Linked DNA regions of Homo sapiens: regions 1 and 2 are each linked to region 3. The links are contacts of gene promoters, found by promoter capture Hi-C in blood cells and fetal thymus (Javierre and others, 2016). All regions are on one chromosome and are shown on one strand. Each heading gives the region's core, a stretch centred on a gene start or on the middle of the fragment in contact. The rest is flanking DNA. Distances are from core to core; before and after follow the strand shown.

Region 1 (3,711 bases), core at 832-3,331, 1.0 Mb before region 3:
CATATATCTGGGAATGTAGAACCATAAGCCTTGAGTCTCATGTCATGGAAAGCTAAACACTGAGCCACTAGATTGCAAGGGCCCACTGTTTCCTCAAAAATGAAGATGTCAAAAACTGGAAACAAATAAATATCCAATTCCAGAGCATAAAATAACAATTTGTGCTATACATGTACACTGAAATGCTATTCAGTCATGAAAGGGAAAAATTACTAATATATGCAATAACATGGATGAAAAAAATATGTTTCAATTATGAGTGAAAGAAGCCATATAGGAAGGAACACATACCCTGTGATTCCAATTATATAAAGTTCTAGATTAGGAAAAACTAACGTACAGTGATAGAAATTCGATGACTACTTATCTGAGGAGGAAGTGGAAGGAGATTGATAACAATGGGCGTGACAAAACTTTCTGGGGTGACAAAATCGGTTTGCCTATTCACTAGGATGTTATTATACTAGAATAGCCATGTATCATTAGTTATCAACTTGTATTCTTAAAAGGAGTACATTTTCTTTGACGTAAATTATACAAAAATAACATTAAAATTTTGAAGCGAAAATGGTCAGTGGTTGTAATAATATATATTTTTTTGTTGATTTCTGGCTGGACACACTCCACAAATTTGTAAAAATTTTGGTAAGAGGAAGTTGTTCTTATAGTGACTGAGTTGTAATTACCAACCACCCAAGTTGGATGGGGAATTGTAGACAGAGTGGATATAATTTATAGGAACCAAATTGTTGACTTAAATGTGTACTTGGAAAATAGAATTACAAAGGTAAAATCATCTCAAAATAAATGAATGTAACAATTCTATTATAAGTAATATTTTAAATGTGCATAATGTTATAAAATCCTGTCAGTGTGAAGTCTGGGAAACAATATAATTTTAAATGACAGAGTAGGTACTGTAAAAATCTCTGACATAGAAGGCAGACAATTCTGTGCTTGGGTTTTGGCCATCCCATTTCCAAGCCTTAGAAGTTCATGGACACTTTCAGTTTATCCAACTCTTCTTAGTTATATTTTTGGACTATCAGCACATTTTGTGTAATACAACTTAGAGCACTAATCAACTATTACATGTTATTTTATTTTTTCTTTGTCTAAAAGCCTCTTTCTTTCTGCCCGGTTTATCAGTGTGGACTTTGGCATCTAATAGCCCTAGGGTCAACTTCTATTTATGAGCTGTAGATCTTAACCAAGTTATTTAACATCTCCCATCCTCCGTGTTCTCATGTATAGGAGGGGCCTCATTATCATTCTTACCTTCTAAGATGCAATGCCTGGTGTAGAGAGCATGCCACTATACCTCTCATTTATAGTAGTCATAAGCTATAGCCCAGAAGCAAGGTAATGTTAAAATGTACTTTTTGGTAAAGTGCTTCTAAATTATTCATATGCTTCATTTCAATATGTTAAATAAACATTAATTTCATTTTATGAATAGGAACAACAGGTAAAAAACTGACTCCAATTCTTGGTAAACACAAGTTGGAGAATTGGGTGAGAAGCAAGAGTCCACTTCAATACTTGCTCAATGGGATGTGCTTTTTTCCAACTGGGCACTACACTGGAAAATCTGGGTTATACAAGCAGACAAAATGGCTTGTTTGTGTCAGTGGGAAATAAATTCTAAGAGACAGACTGGGTGAAGACTATGATAATTTATGAGTTCCAGTTTGCAACTCTTTACCTAAACCTGGGATTCTAGGATATAGAGATCCTTTATGCAAGGGGAGCAGAAGTATGTTCCTCCAGAACCGCTCAATAAAATTGGTTCTAAGAAAAAGCCACTGCATTTCAAAACTGCCTGAAGTATATCTTTCACTCCACTTTATTATTGTATTCTGAACATGGCACCTCTGCAACTTTTGTTTCCATATCCTTTGAGCGTCTTCTAGAAAGCAAAGCTTGATTCTGCCTTCTGGGCTTGAGCATGTGGGCATAGCTGGGTTGTCCTGCACTGCCTGAAGAGCTGCAAGAGACAAGGAATATCATGAACAGTGGTATCCCTCTTTGTTCTTATAGCCTCACCTATGGAGGAAGCTACAAAAGAGGAAATACATTCCTAGAGGACAATCCTAATCTAGTCATTAACATAGTTGAGTGCGTTTGCTGCTAATGGAGCACATTTCAAGCCAGAGATTTCTAGGTATGCATTACAGGGAGGATCTACTTTCATATTTGAGCATAAGTATTTCTACAAGCATCTTAGATAAAAACAGAGAGGAAGCTTTTCAAGGCCATGCATGATAAAACACTCAGGAAACAGTCAATGAGTGATATAAAATAGTTAAAATATGATTTGTTTTCAAAGGATTCAAACCCTAGGATAAAATTTAATGGGAGCAGGTCTTAATTAACACTAATTAATTTTTAAAATATGTGTTTATCCTTTTATTTATTTACCTAATAGACATGGTAGTAAACACTGGGAATATTTTTTTAATGATCCCTTTTCCTGTCCTTCAGCATCTCCTCCTACAATGTATACATATGGGAGGACAAGAATATTGAATACGTAAACTAGAATAAATATAAAATAGAACGATGAATGCTAAAATCATGGTGTGCTCTAGATGGATTCATAGCACTAAACATTGCTTTCACGAACATATGAGGAAATGTTTTCACAGAGTTTATGTGAGAAAATCTTTGAGGCTTTTATTTCATCACAAGATCAACACAATCTGACAATGTGATGCACTTGTTAAAAAATTAATGTGATGTTTGTTTCAAGATAGAACTGAGGTTTCTAGATATCCAGAGGATCTTTTAGAAACTATTAAGGCAAAATAATAATATTTAATTTTGCAAACAAATTTGAAAAACTGCTATACAATCAGATAAACAAAGGCAGCATGAAGTGTGTTGACATGGAGAAGAACTAATTAGAATGATTATATTGGAGAAAACTATAAAATAATAATTTAGTAGAAGAAATGTTTGGTTTCTTTGTAAGGATTTGTGAAAGCAATAGAGAAAAACTAAAGAAAAGCATTTGAGTTATTTTTGAGAATACAGTATTTGGTTATATAGTGAGTATCCCATGCTGTGAAACATTTAAGAAAACATTCATGAGGTAATCATCCTTAATAAATTCAGTAGAGTAATATCTGAACTTGATAAAAACATGCATTTCTAGCCTCTAAATTGCTTTCAAATATAAGTTTCTTTTATTTTAAGGGGGGCACTTAAGGAATAAGAGTTCTTTAATAAAATAATAGAAGTAAGAATGAAGAGACATTTCCAAATTTGAGAGAAGAATGCATAAAACTTGGCCATGGCTTGAATATTGGAGGTGCATGAGAGGAAGGGGGCCAAGATGAGTTTCAAGTTCCTGGATTGAACAACTGGTGATGGTGGCATCAAAAACCAAGTTACACAAAACTGTAAGAGAAGCAGGGTGGGGAAGAATGGCATGTTCAGCTCTGAAATTGTTTACATAAATGTGTCTCTGGAAGATGTGAGGGAATATTTCAGTAGTCTTAAATGATGAAGTTTGGTACTTATTTGGGTAATCAGAATTTGAGATACAAATTCAGATTTTGTTAGTATAAATAAGAGTAGTAAAGCTTTGGGAACAGTTTCTGCAAAAACAGAATAGATTAAAAAAGAAAATTATATGATCAGTCTATGGGAATTCTCCATAGCCCCTTCAAGCAGAGCTCATTCCACTAAATTAATGTTAAAGAAGAT
Region 2 (3,275 bases), core at 386-2,885, 1.0 Mb before region 3:
TTTTCTAGAAGAAACGGGTTTCAGATATCTTTTAACAAATTTTGAAATCAGCTATTCAAAGAAGAAATGTTGTCTAGTGACAATAGTACTGTGTCCAAGGTCAAAGGGACAAATATTTGTACGAGATTCTGACGTAAATGTGGACGTCTTGCCTCCAAAGTGCTGAACAACCAACACTAAGTTTTTTACCTTGTGTTTTATAATGTGAGGAAATAATATATCTCTTTTGGATAAGTTTGTAATAGTCATTCTGATCTATCCCCTTGTGAAATATAATATTCATCTCTTTTGACTGATATTGTGCAAGAAACTGGGAGATTCTTGAGCCTTCCTTCTGGAAAAGAAAAAAGAATTCATGCATACAAATTAGAAGAAAAGTTTACTAAGATATAATAACAAGGTTTCTTTTCATGAAAAGAATGGACAGGCATAGTATTTATGTTTGGTTACATGACCCAATCAAGACATAGGAACTATGAGTAAAGTACTATTATCCTGTCTACAATTTATATTGTTTTGTTATATTTCATGTATTTTTTCTATTTCAATCATTTGTTTCCATTCGTTTTTAATGATATTTTAGAATAAATATCTTGCTAAAGTGTATGATAAAAACCTGATCTCTGGGGATGCAACAAGTTTTAAGAGTATGTAAGGAAACCAAACCTTCTAAGCATATATTTCTTCATAGATTAAACAGTGACATATGTTCCTCCTTCTCATTTCAGAAAGTTCTGCCAATGTGAAGACATCCAGGGTCCTGATATATTCCAGGTCTGGGGGTATGTTTTCCTGTTTACAGGTTTGGAGAATTTCCTAAGTTAATAGTCATCTTTTAATGACCTTTATGCATCTAGATAGATAGATAGATAGATAGATAGAGAGATAGAGACATAGATATAGATGCATCTATATATGCATCTGTATATCTATCTATCTATCTATATATATATAAAGTGATTTTAGGTAAAATAAAAATTAGACAAAATTTCTCTCATATCCTATAGTAAAGTTAGCATGAAAATGGTTATTTTATTACAATATTATAAATATTATAGTGCAGATTGCTGCCCAAAGAGAGTTTCTATTAGCCTAGCAGTACAACAGAAAGAAATGTGGAAATCAGGAGTTTAGATAAGCATTTCAATTTGAGTCTTATCTGTTATGTAATGAAATAGGACTCTCTCAGGAATCTCCCCTGGAATCTCTTTACATTGAGACAAAAAGAGAGGGAGTGGTATAGGGTCAGACAAACAATTGCCATGGCATGTAGGGGTTTACATGGCTATGTCTCTGACTAAATCACAGTCTTGGAACTGTGATTTCTATATACTGCATAATATATGTATATTATGTGTGTATCTATATATTATATTATATATAATATTTTATATATATATATATGTTGGTTTGTTAAATGAAACAAACAAATAGCTAGGATTCTTCTTATCCTGAACTTCAGAATCCAATGCTCTGCTGGAAAACCTCAGAATTATAACCATATCCAAAGGCCTGGCCAAGGCCTAGACCTCTTCTAATAGCCTTGTTAACCTGCTTCCTGGTCTGCTGGGCTAGTGACCCTAAAACGTCCTGGGATCCATCACTCTGGAGAATCCAAATGCAGATAGAGTGCAGGGAGCCACTGGACCCCTGCTGCAGGTATCTGCAGCTACCTCCTTCCTGCCACAACCTCTGCTGATCAGAAAGGTTATTTCATTTTGGAATTTAGTGCTCATTATATATGAGAATTGTACGTGATAAATAATATATAATTATTGGTAAACTCTAGTAGTTCAGGGCTGCAGATTTCAGTGTAATTCTATGGAAAATTTTGTCTATCCCTGAAAAACATGGATCTGAGAATATTTAAACTCTAATAATACTCATAATATAATCTTACAGTCAAAAGTTTTAAAAAGTTATAAAATTTAAACATTTTATAGGAGTTCCCCAATCATATTTTTTTAATTCACAGAAATGAGTAAACACTGAAAAATTCCAATTTGTAGCATCCTAATAATAATTAGGAAAACTACTCTTTATTGCATGCATACACTTCATCTGTTTATTCATCACATATTAATTACGTATCTGCTATGTGCCAGGATCTCTAGTACTTACTCCTATTAATTATTGAAGAAACTAGTTACATTCTGGTGGCAGAAACTTAGTATATTTTAGCTCTTTTTACTTAAATGGAAAAGGGTTAAAAGTGGAACAGGTTTGTTCTGGAAAACAAAATGGTTAATTTCAGCTGTATTCATTTTGTGATGCCAGTGAAACACTCTAGTGGAATTGTTGAATATGCTGCTACAGCTAAATGAATCTGGAGCTCCAAGGAGAGAGTTCTGGATGAGGCCTAATATCTTGGAAGTTGTTGGTATGTGATGCCTGGCATTATATTGCCTCTAGCTTTACATAGTCTTATGAAAAAGGACTGGAATTGTCCCTGCTTTATATGTGGTAAGACTGATGATTAGTCAGCTACAGCGTTTAAGATACATGCAGGAAGACATATACTTTACTGACAGAATCTAGGTTTAGATTTGAGTATCTCTTACTACAAAGCATCTACTATTAATTATTTCTATGAACAGTCTGAACCTGAGGACTCAGCCTTTTAGCCAGTTGGAAACTGGATCCCACCCCACAAAAGGCAAGGTAGTCCCTTAAAGAACAATCACAGGTTTAATGAAAATGACAGATTTGTAAAGGAAGGATAGAGAGATCACAGAAGACACTGCATGGGCCTTGGAGTTGAATAGAGTCTAAAAAAATGGAGATATCCATTGTAAAATACCAATCTTACCTTTCATACTGGTGGACTTTTGGTACGTATTAAGTAGGGTCTCGATAGACTTTTGTCCAGCCACAGGGTTCTTTAGCACATTGTCTAGCAAGATGAGGGCTTTGTCTTCAATTTCGGCATAATATTTTTTCTTTTCCTTTCTCTTCAATATCAGAACTTTTTTTCTTCACAAGTTATTCAAATTGTCATGAAGAATACCATGGCCCCCACACCTCCTTCTGTTCATCCTTTCTTCTGATCTGTCAGTTTTTCTACCTCAGCTAATCTAAAATACATGTCCTGAATGAGTAAAATTTAACTAGTCTCCTTGCATTTTCCCGTAATAATTAACCAAATAGTTTACATTTCACTTTTTGTTTTCATTTCAATTGTTTTTTTAGATTCAGGGATACACACGCAGGTTTGTTAAAAAGGTATATTATGTGATGCTGAAGTTTGGGGTATGATTTAACCCATCACCTAGGTA
Region 3 (3,597 bases), core at 420-2,919:
CAGGGTGATAGGTTTGGGGCTGAGGTTTGGAAGTGGAGAGAGTAAGCTATTTTAGACTAGGTGAACAGAGACATTCTGTTTGGTATGAGATTTGGGCCTGAATGATACAGAGGAAACAAGGAATGTGATAATGGGAGAAGGGGAGAATATTCTAGATTCTAGACCAAGTACAAATAATCCCTACGTTACTGTCTGTGTATTAGGCTCCATAGATCTAATACACAGAGATCTTGCTCGATGGTAAAATAATGGGATATGAATTCCTGAATTTAAACAAATTCTCTTTCTGAGCTCATTGTCTCCATCAGTAATAACTAGTGCACAGAACATGTGCAATAACGTACACAGAAGTGTTTTGGAAACAGAAACGTAATGTATCAAAGTTATAAAAATCAGTTTAAAACGACAAGAAGGAAAGGTTATATGATTCTTAGTTAAAAATGGAGAAGTGAGTTATGATCATTGCTGATATGGGTATTAGTATCACTTACGTATCTTTACACTGTCTCTTATTGTACTTTTTATGCGTATGATTTATTTGCCTTACCAGATTGTAAGCTCCCTGCAGCTGGTAAGCAGATTTTCAACATGGCAGCTGACACAGGCTTTTGGTTAGCTAAGATGATATATTAAGCCAATAATTCGTTTTACTGTCCTTTGGGGATCTGAATTTGTGTGTGTGTGTGCTCAGAATCCCATCTACTTTCGAGGGATTCGGGGGGCTTATGATATCACGAAAAGTTAATGAAGACAAGTATAGATAAAAACATAATAGAACCCATCTTAAATAGGACAGAAATCATAGGCAGGTAATTGTGTTAATTACTACCGCTGGCCTTTGGCTGATATTTCCGGGCAGTCAGAGGAAGAAGGAAATCGGCTGAATCCCGCAGTACCGCACTTTAATCGACCTCCAGGTAGTCATTTACAGTCATCTGCAGAGACCAACTTTTCCCTGGACCAAAACCTGCAGGGCACTTGGATCGCGTGGGCTTTCATACGAGAGTCAACAACAGCCTACACGGAACAACTAAGGAAACAGACATACATCAATATGACCCTTCGCAAAGTCTGAGAAAATAACTGAGCAAAGTTATTTACTTGTTTCTGTTGCTGTTAGAGCAAGGACCTCTGTCATGATGGAAACACTGATACCTCAACAATGGAATCCTGTTTTCTCGCTAGTGCTCTAGCCCAGGCTTGGCAATAGCAAAACAGCACCTGGGTCGCTTCATCGCCCCAAATAAACAGCCAGCATTAGCTCAGCTGCTCGCTGGCAGCCTCGGATCCAGGCGGGGTCAGTGTTGCGCACTGGGGATAGTGCCTCTGCTCGGCCTTCGGAGGGAGGGTTTCAGGTAGGCTGCTGCTAAGGGTCGGGAGCGTACTGTGTGAGGGTGGGTCTTAGGCTGATGCGGATGGGGGCAGGGAAAGAAGGAACTCAGGGCTGATGCGTTGCACAACTGCAGGGGGCACCACTGCAGACCCCCTCCTAGAGATGGAAACCTCTCGTGCCCCGTACACGAAGCAGCTGAAGCCAAGGACATTCTCTTCTCTGTGGGTCACAGGGGCCAACTCAGACCCTGAGAATAAGGGCTACCATCCCACTCCTCCCTCAGACCCCGGAGCTCACCCACCTGCAACTGCAGTCTCCGAAGTCTCCACCCCAGTCTCCCTGCCTCCAGAGGACTGGTTGCGATTGGCCTGCACCGCTGTCCCGTTAACTCTTCCGCAAGTGTGAGTGGCGTAACTGTCGGGCTCTTGGCCTTGGTCCCGCCCTTCGCTCGCCTCCGAAGCCTCGCCTACTTGACGTCATACAATGCCGCAAAGCGCAGGGCTGATCTCCGTCTCCGCCCCCAGCTGCTTTCTCCGAGAGGAGGTGGCTGAGTCGGGGGCGGGCTGGGAGGGCTGTCGGTGGGCCAGTCTGCGTAGCGACGGCCCGTCCCCTGCGCACGGACGCCGGGAAGAAGGGGGTGGGGCCACGTTTGCGTCCGCGCCATCAGGCCCGAGATAGCGGCGAGGTCCGCTTTCAGTGTATGGTTTTCCCTGCCAAACGGTTCTGCTTGGTGCCATCCATGGAGGGCGTGCGCTGGGCCTTTTCCTGCGGCACTTGGCTGCCGAGCCGAGCCGAATGGCTGCTGGCAGTGCGATCGATTCAGCCCGAGGAGAAGGAGCGCATTGGCCAGTTCGTCTTTGCCCGGGACGCTAAGGCAGCCATGGTACTACAGGTCTTTTTTGGTATTTAGAGCCTAGGAAGCAGATCTTGGGGGAGGCGGGCCGGGCTGTGGAGACCCGACACTCCCGCGCTGGCCGCGACCCTCTCGCTGTGGAGCCTGTGGCCGGCCCGGGCGACAGCAGCCGGCGCTGCGGAGTTGTGGGCGACGCACGGCCTGGTTTCCACGGCCTTTGTAACCGCCTTGGAGGCCGCGATGGCTGTAAACATTATCTCTTTCCCCTTGTTATTTCAAATGGAGACCCTCCTAAACCATGAAATAAGTGTAGGGAAGGCCGACAAAATTGGGTTTTTCTGTAATGAATGTTTTTATGTCTTTATCTTTAAATGTTATTTTTTTTTGTTTGTGTGCGTTCATAGCCTATGCTTATTCTGCCTGTTAAATATCCCATCATTCTCCAAGGACTCCCTGCACGTGGTAGGCCCTAGAAATTATTGACAGTATGATTTAGTTTGTAGCCCTGCGCTCCCCGGGATTGAAGCCAATGAAATTGAAGCCAGAGAGGATACCTTCCTCACTAGATGCCATGGGAAACAGTATTTTACGTAGATTTATTTATTTTAGCTATGTATTTTGAAGCAACAAATGGAAAACTGGATTTCAAAACAAGTAATCTGTACAATATGGTGCAATTTGAAACAACCGTGAATTACCATCATTTAAAAGACAGTCCTTTCTTAAAAATGTCCCATATTGAAACACTTTCTGTTTGAAATGTAGACTAGTTGATAATTTTTAAGGCACATTGGTGAAAATTTTTTACTCATTTGTAAGGAATTGTAAAATAAGCTACATTTAAAAGCCTGCAGTTTTTAAAAGTCAGTGTTAGAATTGAAGAAGAAAAAAACCTGAAAGATATTTTTAAAAATATATACTTTGTCATCTTATATTCTTGTTTTTTTGTGTGTGTGTTTTTAGTAATTATTTAAAAAATAATAATTGGAGGTGGGAGAGAGCAGAACAAGATAGGTCATGCCTTGCTAATTGTTGAAGCTGGGTGATCAATATATGGGATCTAGAAATACATATGCACAGATGTAGGTACAGTAGGGTTGCTCACTGCAGAGTTGTTTTTGACAGCAAGTCTAGAGCCAGCCTAAAATGTCCAATAAAGGGGAAATAATATTATGAAATATGCTACAGTTAAAACTGCATGGACCAGACGTGTGTGTACAGACATAAAATACTTCCCAATACTTATAAATTTAAAGCTTATATGTGGTAGAATACTGCATAAGTATAATCTCATGTTTGTGTTTATATGTAGAGTTAGCAAAAACATGTAAATGCACATATATTTAAATACAGAAAAGACTGACAGGATGCCAGCTGTTAACTTTGGTCACTAGCAAAGGAGAGGGAATTG

What was found. Contacts are between HindIII fragments. The CHiCAGO score rates a contact against its expected background, and 5 or more counts as called.
Region 1: a contact is called between a fragment that was not itself captured here and the fragment with the promoter of KBTBD3 in region 3, in 1 of 17 cell types (total CD8 T cells). The highest score is 5.3, in total CD8 T cells.
Region 2: a contact is called between a fragment that was not itself captured here and the fragment with the promoter of KBTBD3 in region 3, in 1 of 17 cell types (total B cells). The highest score is 6.0, in total B cells.

What each region holds. Positions count from the first base shown.
Region 1 is chr11:105,039,733-105,043,443 of GRCh38, forward strand. It overlaps CARD16 (caspase recruitment domain family member 16), which reads right to left. Exons shown (of 4, transcript NM_052889.4): 4 at 1,831-1,987. Among named protein-coding and RNA genes, the nearest start is that of CARD16, 3.7 kb to the right of the region's middle. The HindIII fragment of the contact is 323 bases long and covers 1,921-2,243 here.
Region 2 is chr11:105,057,632-105,060,906 of GRCh38, forward strand. It overlaps LOC107984381 (a long non-coding RNA gene), which reads left to right. Exons shown (of 3, transcript XR_001748352.2): 2 at 729-782. Among named protein-coding and RNA genes, the nearest start is that of CARD16, 14 kb to the left of the region's middle. The HindIII fragment of the contact is 4,901 bases long and covers 1-3,275 here.
Region 3 is chr11:106,075,678-106,079,274 of GRCh38, forward strand. It overlaps KBTBD3 (kelch repeat and BTB domain containing 3), which reads right to left and starts at 1,670. Exons shown (of 4, transcript NM_198439.3): 1 at 1,635-1,670; 2 at 830-1,030. It overlaps AASDHPPT (aminoadipate-semialdehyde dehydrogenase-phosphopantetheinyl transferase), which reads left to right and starts at 1,985. Exons shown (of 6, transcript NM_015423.3): 1 at 1,985-2,216. The coding sequence starts at 2,034. RefSeq lists enhancers at 1,463-1,582, 1,593-1,702, 2,013-2,252. The HindIII fragment of the contact is 8,387 bases long and covers 1-3,440 here.